Regions from separate parts of the Homo sapiens genome. Here regions 2 and 3 are each linked to region 1. The links are contacts of gene promoters, found by promoter capture Hi-C in blood cells and fetal thymus (Javierre and others, 2016). All regions are on one chromosome and are shown on one strand. The core of a region is centred on a gene start or on the middle of the fragment in contact, and the rest is flanking DNA. Distances in the headings are between cores, read along the strand shown. Region 1 overlaps VEGFA (vascular endothelial growth factor A). Region 2 holds the start of HSP90AB1 (heat shock protein 90 alpha family class B member 1). Region 3 holds the start of SLC29A1 (solute carrier family 29 member 1 (Augustine blood group)).

Region 1 (2,596 bases), core at 1-2,500:
AAAGGAAGGAAGCAGATCACAGAGGTTAGTGACCCAGCCAGCCATACCCAGATGGGACAACCCTGGGGCTCCTGCCACTCAGCACCCAGGGGTTCTGCAGAGCAGGGATGGGTGGTGGAGGCAGGGAGGACCAAGAGCTCTAGCAGGAAAGAGGCTCAGGCCCACCCCAACTCCCCCAACCCTGCTGGCCTCAAGGAGCCCTTGTTCCACTTGAGGCCAAGACATGGCTGCAAGGGTTGGCCAGGCTGGGAATTCAAATCCTAGGTTCTTACCACTCCCCATCCCCTCCCCTTCTTTCATCCTCTCTAGGCTTCACCCTGACTCCTAGTAGATACCCGAAAGCAACCCCCTCCCTGTGTTTCACAGCTCCCTCCCACCCTATCTGGGCTGAGATGTGCCCCATTACCAGGTAACACCAAAAGACTTTTTAAACTCTCCATGGACCAGGCTCATCCAGCTTCCCAAACAAAGCCCCCAAGAAGGGGGGGCACTCAGGACTCTCTCCAAGAGAGGGAGAGAGGGGCTCCTGACACAGGCATCCATCTGTCCCCTCCTGAGCCCATGGGCAACCATCAGGGAGAAGGAGATGGTTGGGGCTTGCTGGGAACCTGGGCTGGGAATGAAGCATCTTCTCCACAGAAGGCAAGACCCCACCATACCTCCCCTGTGCAACTCAGGGGCAGGAGCCAGACAAGGCAAATCTAGCCAGGAAACGACCTGGGACCACCTGTTCCCAAAGTGTTACCCCCCTCCCTATCCCCCCCTTGCCCCACTTCCCAAAGATGCCCACCTGCATGGTGATGTTGGACTCCTCAGTGGGCACACACTCCAGGCCCTCGTCATTGCAGCAGCCCCCGCATCGCATCAGGGGCACACAGGATGGCTTGAAGATGTACTCGATCTCATCAGGGTACTCCTGGAAGATGTCCACCAGGGTCTCGATTGGATGGCAGTAGCTGCGCTGATAGACATCCATGAACTTCACCACTGCATGAGAGGCGATGACACATGAGCCCGGTGGGCGACACAAAAGATGGCTAGCCCCTCTCTCCACCCAGCTCTGTAATGCCACTCTTTGGAGCTTCCGAATCAGGCAAGTCCTTCCAAAATCTAACGTAAGTCCCTCCTACTGTGTTTGAAGCACTTCCCTAAGCTTTCCACCATCAACACTGGTGAAGGCCTGTTTTCATTCCAGAGATCACACGATGTACTCAAGTTCCAAGGGACATGGCCTGCCACATCTGATCCCGCCACCTCACTGTGACAGCTGAACTGAATCCTGGGCCAACCTCGATGCCAGAGGACAGTCTGAGTATGGGTATACCCCATGGGGATGCTCTAAGCTTTCCCTAAAAGGAGGAAGAGCCAGCTTTGCCAAGCTAGTCTCCAGTTTCCTACGTCCTCCCCACAACCACTACCATAACGTCAACCATACCAACAGCTGTTTATTGAGCACTTACTACATCCTGAGTACTGTGTACAGTAGTCCACAGCTATCATTTCACACAAGTTTCTCCACATGGTACTATTAGACACTATTGAGATTCCATTTTACAGATGGGGAACAGGAGGCTCAAAGAGGCTAAGTAAGTTGCCCCAAGGCCGCACAGCTAGTAAGTAAAGGAGTCAGAATTAGCTGACATCAAAGTGTTCCCAAGCCTATATTAGGCAAAAACAGAGGAGGCACCTTTCAGGAGGAGGCACCTTTCCCCCTGCCAGTCCTCTTCCCCAGACATGAGCTGAGAAGGTGGTGGGCATCAGCACAGGGGCTGGGCCCTCCTGGAACCCACAGGTGGCAGTGGGCGGACACGCTGTGCCAGCCCTGCCAGCCACTGATAACCCCGCCCAAGAGGGCAAACTGCTTGCATCATGGAAAAAACAGTGCTGCCACTGTAGCCACGAAACATTTCTAGAAGCTGATCTGAAGGGAGACCAGGGTAGAGACAGTTTCCCAGGCTGGCCACGAAGCCTGGGGTGCACTGGAGCATGAAGGGGTAATTCTGGGCCACAGAGGCGGGGCCCTTGAGAATAAATAAATGCAGGACTCTGGCATGACTACTCCAAATTGTGGCCCAGCCTGCCACGCCTATCGCACCCCACCACCACTACCACATAGCAATCCTGTCCCTGAAATAGGTTCCCTACCCAGAGGGAAGAAATAACACCTGGCCAGTGAGGAGGCCCAGGCTCTGGCCATGAGTTGGTATGACCTTGGGCCAGTCCCTCCCCTCTCTAGGCCTCCAACTCTGCTCAACTGTGTAAGTGGGTTGGGCTGATCTCTAAAGATGCTGAAACAGGCTGAAAAAGGTGGTGTTTTGGCTTCCATTTCCAGCCCTAGGAACAAGTGCTCTTTTTTCAGCCTGGGTAATATGAAGTTTAGAACTTCACCAAAGCATCTTAAGTGTATGCTTCGTGGACTTCCACCCCAGCTCCCAACCCCCACCCCCCAGAGACCACAGCTGAGCCTCCCCCTCACTCCTCCCTCCAAGGTCTGCTTTCCAGAAGAATAAAGGACAATGAGGGGGGCTATGTACACAATAGGTTGATTGGGAAGAAGGTGGGGAGAAGGCCACAGGTGTGAAAACAGAAAGAACAG
Region 2 (2,596 bases), core at 42-2,541, 470 kb before region 1:
CACAGAACCCACCTACTTAAAGAATGGTGACCAGCAGCCTCAGCATCATCTGGTAGTATGGCAGAAAAATCATAATGTTGGTCCAACCCAGGTATCTAGAGATCCCAAGTAATCCTTACACAAATTTAAATGTGAAAATCACTACCTACAGTTCTTTATTTGGGGGAGATCAAAGTGACTAGTTTAAGATAAAAATGGCACTAACTTTAAACTGCTCCCCCTGAGGTGTCAGTTCCTAAGACCAGTCCAAGGGCGGGACACTCCTGCCCCATAGGGCAGGGAGGAATAACCTGGGATCCATACGATACCCACCGGAGGAGCAATTAAATCCGGACAAAGAATTCTTAAGCCAAAAGCTCCACCACGACCCTTTCACAGCACAAAATTACAGAACAGGACCAAACCCAAGAAAGATGGTGGCCGTAGCCACCAGGCCGACACTCGTCACTGCCGGACATGCGTCGGCCAGGACCACGCGAGGAGGGGGCGCCGCAGTGCACCCTCCCTCGCCCCAGCATCCGGGCACTGGGGCGGGGCGCCAGAATCCAGAAGCTTCCAGAACAATCTCAGCTCTCGAGGAAGGGCGGAGGAAGGAGCCCATGAATCTTCCAGAACCTGCTCCCCTCCCCGCCCCTCCTCCACCGGGACTGCAAGAAAGATCTGGAAGGAGGGAGTATCGGGTGCTGGAGACCGAAAGCTCTCTTCCCACACCGTCAACCCTCCCTCACAGAAACAAAGCACCCAAGAAGGCTTTAACAACGCGTCCGATAAGAGAGGTGACAAAGCCAGTCCCACAAGGCCGTGCTGAGTCACCCGAGCGGGCACCCCCGCCACCCTGCGGTCCCCCTCCGACGCCCCGTAGCCGCGTCCGGAAGTGGAGGGGCAAAAATGGCAGCGTCCCGGGCCGCGCGGCCACCACGTGCAGCTGCCAGCCGCCCACTGCCCCAACCCCACAGCCCACCTCGCTACGGCCAGCAGGCGCCGAGAGAAAGCCCCACCCCCCAAACACACTAGAGAAAACCGAGGAGGACTCAAAAAACCTCACCCACCACTACCCTCACCCTATAAAAATCCAGAGCGTTATCCACAAGCCACCCCGACATCTAGACTAAGGCTCCCTAAAGGACAGAAAAAAACAAAAACAACACGAATACAGCACTAAAGGGAAAGAAGCCTAGCGGAGATCTCAGCCTTACCTTGAAAAGAAAAGGATTATACGTAATAGTGAGCAACGTAGGCTTGCTTTCCGATACCCAGACAGTCCCAACACTGCGCCGGAGTGACTCGAGAGAGCTACTGCGTGCCCCAAGTCGCCCTATATAAGGCGAAGCACAGTACAGCCGCCCTCCTGTAGATCCCTCCGCCTTAAAGGAGTATGATTGTCAACCCCGCACCTGCCGCCACCAGCCCACCTTGACGTCATGGTCCGAAAAAAAGAGGGGGCGGGGAAGAACCCAAGCAACGGATCCGCCCACACATTTGCTTGTGATCACAGCCCCATAGTTTCACGTCTAGGACATGACTCCATCAAGAGCGGGGATGAGGAGTGCTCATTTGGCATAAACGGTGTCTCTACGGGCGAGGAACCCACTGACCTCCCTAAACACTTGTGGGGCAGGCGTCCCCACACCCAAGGGCGGGACTGGGGGGGACACCGAAAAAGAGCGGAGGCAGCTAACCACGCGGACCACCGCTCCCAGACCCAATCTTCTTCCTAGCATCTGCCCTACACATCTCGCGTCCCGACAGAGGGACTGGCATTCGGGACCCAACCTTGGGTAGCCCCAGATCCCGACTCTCGCAGGAGTAGAGGAAGGGCGGAGGGTTCGCGCTGAGGGGCAGCTCAGCGTAGGGGGAGGGCGCCGGCCGGGGCTGGCGGGGACTCTTTGCCGACATGCGGCGGAAGGCGCGGCGGCGGCACTGCGGCATTTCCAGCAGTTTCCAGGCCTGTCTCGGCGGTCCCGCCCCCTCCCCGCGAGGCTCCGCCTCTCCGGCTGCGGCCGGGGCAGGGTTTTTGCAGCGACCCCACCCGGCGACCCGCTCTGACCTGTCCGAGAGACGCGGGTACCAGCCCAATCCTCAGGGATGGGATGGAGGGTTGGGGAGGGATCGGCTGACCCCTCCTTCCCCGCGTCAATCACACAACACCCAGGCACCTGGGGCGGCTCTGCGGGCGTACACTTTTGCAGACTGAGAGTGGAGTACCTGCGGGGGGGACCCCCCTCTAGCCCCTGCGGCCGCCACGTACACGGAGCACGGGGACATGCGCCCTCCCTACGCAGGCACGTCAAGCCCTTTCTCAAGCTGGTTCGCTTTTTTTCCGCCCACTTCGCTCCTGCAGCCATTTGGACCTGGGAAGGAGGGAGTCTCTGGGAACCAGTGCAGGGCAGCCGGAGCTCTTGGAGGCCGCGTGACGATGCCGGCCACAGAGCGGCTGGCCAAGTTGTTCCCCTTCAGCCTTGGCACCAGAGCCCCTAGGCCATGCCCCTGGCCAGTGAGCTGCCGTGTCTGGCCTGGCTCAGCCGTTTTGCCTGCCCTCCAGTTGGCAAGCTGTCCTTGCCTTTCCAAGGCCTCATCCGAAAGCCTGCTGGACCCA
Region 3 (2,596 bases), core at 1-2,500, 450 kb before region 1:
GATACCAGCTCAGAGCATCTGGTGTCCCTCCAACTATGCCTTGGCCTGCTGAGGTGGGCCCCTGAAAGTAGCCACCAAATTGAGTACCTCCCTGCCTCCAGACTCCCAACACCTCTCCTGCAATTCTCCACTCCCAGGATTTCATATGGGGCTAGCCACTACCTGCAGATCTCTTGTCTTTTCTTCACAACCACCCATAAGCTAGTACTAGCACTGAATAGATGGGGCCAGCTGAGGTTCAGAGGGGTTGAGTCACTTGCCTGAAGTCACAGAGCTGGTGAGTGGAGGAGCTAGAATCCATATTAAATGTTCAAGCTCCTTTTGGAATGGAGAGAGGTATAAAAGCTGCTTCTCAGTTAGCCCTGTAGACTGGGAGGTGGGGGGAACTCTGATTCAACTAAAGGGAAAAATGAGGTGGAGACCAAGATCATTCCCAGCCTGACTTGAGTGTCAGGCAGCTCAGCCCCGCCCCATCACACACATCCTGGCATGGGGAGCTTACACAAGCAGGAGGAAAGTTGGAGGGTCTGGAGGCCACCGAGAGGAGTAGGCAAAGGGACTACCACAGGGCTGCAGAGAGACCCCTAGAGGTGTGAGGGCAGGGTTGGAGCCAGCCTTGACCTACGACTGCTCTCTCCTGGTAAGCAAAGCCGAGGACTGTTTGTCTTCACCCTCTCATATACCCTCACAGTAAATCAGTAAATGAAGACGTGCGCAGGAAGGAGACGCCAGGGATACGAGTTTAGCCAGTAAAAGACCGGGGTTAAAGAGACAGCCCCGCACCTCCGCTCGCGAGCCTGCACCTCCGCTCGCGAGCCTCCATCCCCATCCCCATCCCCATACCCCTCCGCCAGCGCAGTCAGCGGCACGGCCCCTCCCTGATACCGACCAGATCGATGGGGATCACCCGTCCACTCGCCTGCCCCTTGCGGAGGTCAACGTGACCGCAGCCTGTTTTAGGCCCGGGAGCCAGGCCGCCCCGCCCAGCTTGGGTCCCGGTCCCCGCAGGGTCCTCAGGCTCCCTGGCCCGTGCGCGCCACGTGCTGCGCGGCTCCGCACGCTCCGCACTGGGGCCCCACCCGGCGTCCCTTCTCCGGGCTGCGGAGCCGTCAGGCCCGCCCTCCCTGCCCTCCGTGGCAGGCGGGCAGCGGCGTCTTCCGCCCCGGCAGTCCCCAGTCCCCAGTCCCCGGCCCCGGGCAGCACCTGCCGCAGAAGCACTGCTCCCGCGCTGAGATCCGCGCGCTCTCGCTGCAGCTTCCCTCTCCCGCCGGGGCACATTCAAACCCGCCCTCCGCTGAGCTCGCCCCGCCCTGCGCCCACTGCCACCTCCCCGACGCCCGCGGCCCCGCCCCCGGCCCACCCCTGCCACCCCGCGGCGACTCCGCGCGCTCCGCCGCTCCCACCCCGAGCCCCTGCGCCCCCAGGGCCGCCTGGTCGTGTTATTGCGGTAGATAGGACCTCTTTGGGCCCTGCCACACCAAGGCTGTCTGTCCATCGTGTGGGGTACATGGGGCTGGAGGGTACAGCCACACATTAAGGACCTGCGCAGACTCCCATAAAATTCATCTCGGGACTGTTCCATTTACACACCCGCTGCTCAGACCGGCCCCGACGCTCCACGGCCCACTCCACCTCAGATATTCCGTTATCCCTTCCCAAGCCCTGCCCACGCCGCGCTTCCTCCACACTGCACCTTTTTCCTCCCAGCGCCCTCCCTTTCAGCGCCCCCTTCTTTCTTTCAGTCCCCCTCCTCTTCTTTTCCTTCAAAACTGCTTCTGTCCCCACCGCGCATTTTCTGTGACCAGCATGATGGGTTTTCCCATCCCTGACACATCCAGTCCCAGCCACAGACGCGCAAACACCACCCCACTCACAACTTTGACTTGGAGGGGGTATGTGCCTCTGCCTGTGCTTGCGTGTGCGCGCGGAGGGGGGTGGGGCAAAGCCCTCCAGCTCCCTCATAATTCACCCTTTCTAAATCCAGCACTTTGGAAAACTGAGGCACAGGTGGGAATGGGAAGAGAAAAAGCTAGGAACAGCCTTATATCCTCAGTGAATCCTATTGTCCCAGCCATCCTGACAGGCGGAAGCCTTGCTGAGTATGTCTTTCACTAGCTAAGGAGGAAGGTGTGGGCGTGCTGAGGGGTGGTCCAGCAAGTCCCTCCAAGGGAGGGGGAGGGAGGCCCTCTCTTTGGTCGGGCAATAAATGGGGTGGGGTGGGGGGCACTCCCTGCCCTTCCAGCAGTACTCAGTGCTAGAGGATGATCCTAAGGCTGGAAAGGTCCTGAGGAGAAAATCCAACCCACGCTGCCCACCCCATGCCCACTGACCCGAAGGGCTTGTCCCCTAGAGAAGCCACAGACACTGATTAACAACTGGCAGTACCTCACATCATAGGGATAAGGTAGTCCTACCCTGTCCCCAGAGAAACAGACAGGGCCCTAAGGAGAGAGGTGGCTTTTCTAATTAGGGTCAGTGGCTCTCCCCAAGCTACTCCAGAATGGGTGTCCCCAGCCTTCTGTTTCCATGCCCCACAGAGATGACACACATATTCCTTCCCAACCCTCCCCCACCCCACCCCCATCCCCCACATCCC

What was found. The method cuts DNA at HindIII sites, captures the fragments that hold promoters and counts their contacts. A CHiCAGO score of 5 or more calls a contact.
Region 2: the fragment with the promoter of HSP90AB1 here is called in contact with a fragment that was not itself captured in region 1 in 2 of 17 cell types (monocytes and neutrophils); the score reaches 6.6 in monocytes.
Region 3: a contact is called between the fragment with the promoter of SLC29A1 here and a fragment that was not itself captured in region 1, in 8 of 17 cell types (total CD4 T cells, activated CD4 T cells, naive CD8 T cells and 5 more). The highest score is 7.3, in total CD4 T cells.

The regions. Positions count from the first base shown.
Region 1 is chr6:43,775,860-43,778,455 of GRCh38, reverse strand. It overlaps VEGFA (vascular endothelial growth factor A), which reads right to left. Exons shown (of 8, transcript NM_003376.6): 3 at 791-987. Among named protein-coding and RNA genes, the nearest start is that of VEGFA, 6.9 kb to the right of the region's middle. The HindIII fragment of the contact is 190 bases long and covers 1,156-1,345 here.
Region 2 is chr6:44,245,796-44,248,391 of GRCh38, reverse strand. It overlaps HSP90AB1 (heat shock protein 90 alpha family class B member 1), which reads right to left and starts at 1,291. Exons shown (of 12, transcript NM_007355.4): 1 at 1,197-1,291. RefSeq lists enhancers at 192-241, 726-1,480, 2,235-2,596 and a silencer at 1,792-2,031. The HindIII fragment of the contact is 5,727 bases long and covers 555-2,596 here.
Region 3 is chr6:44,222,249-44,224,844 of GRCh38, reverse strand. It overlaps SLC29A1 (solute carrier family 29 member 1 (Augustine blood group)), which reads right to left and starts at 1,250. Exons shown (of 13, transcript NM_001372327.1): 1 at 1,204-1,250. RefSeq lists enhancers at 171-320, 563-1,421 and a silencer at 1,011-1,410. The HindIII fragment of the contact is 15,932 bases long and covers 1-2,596 here.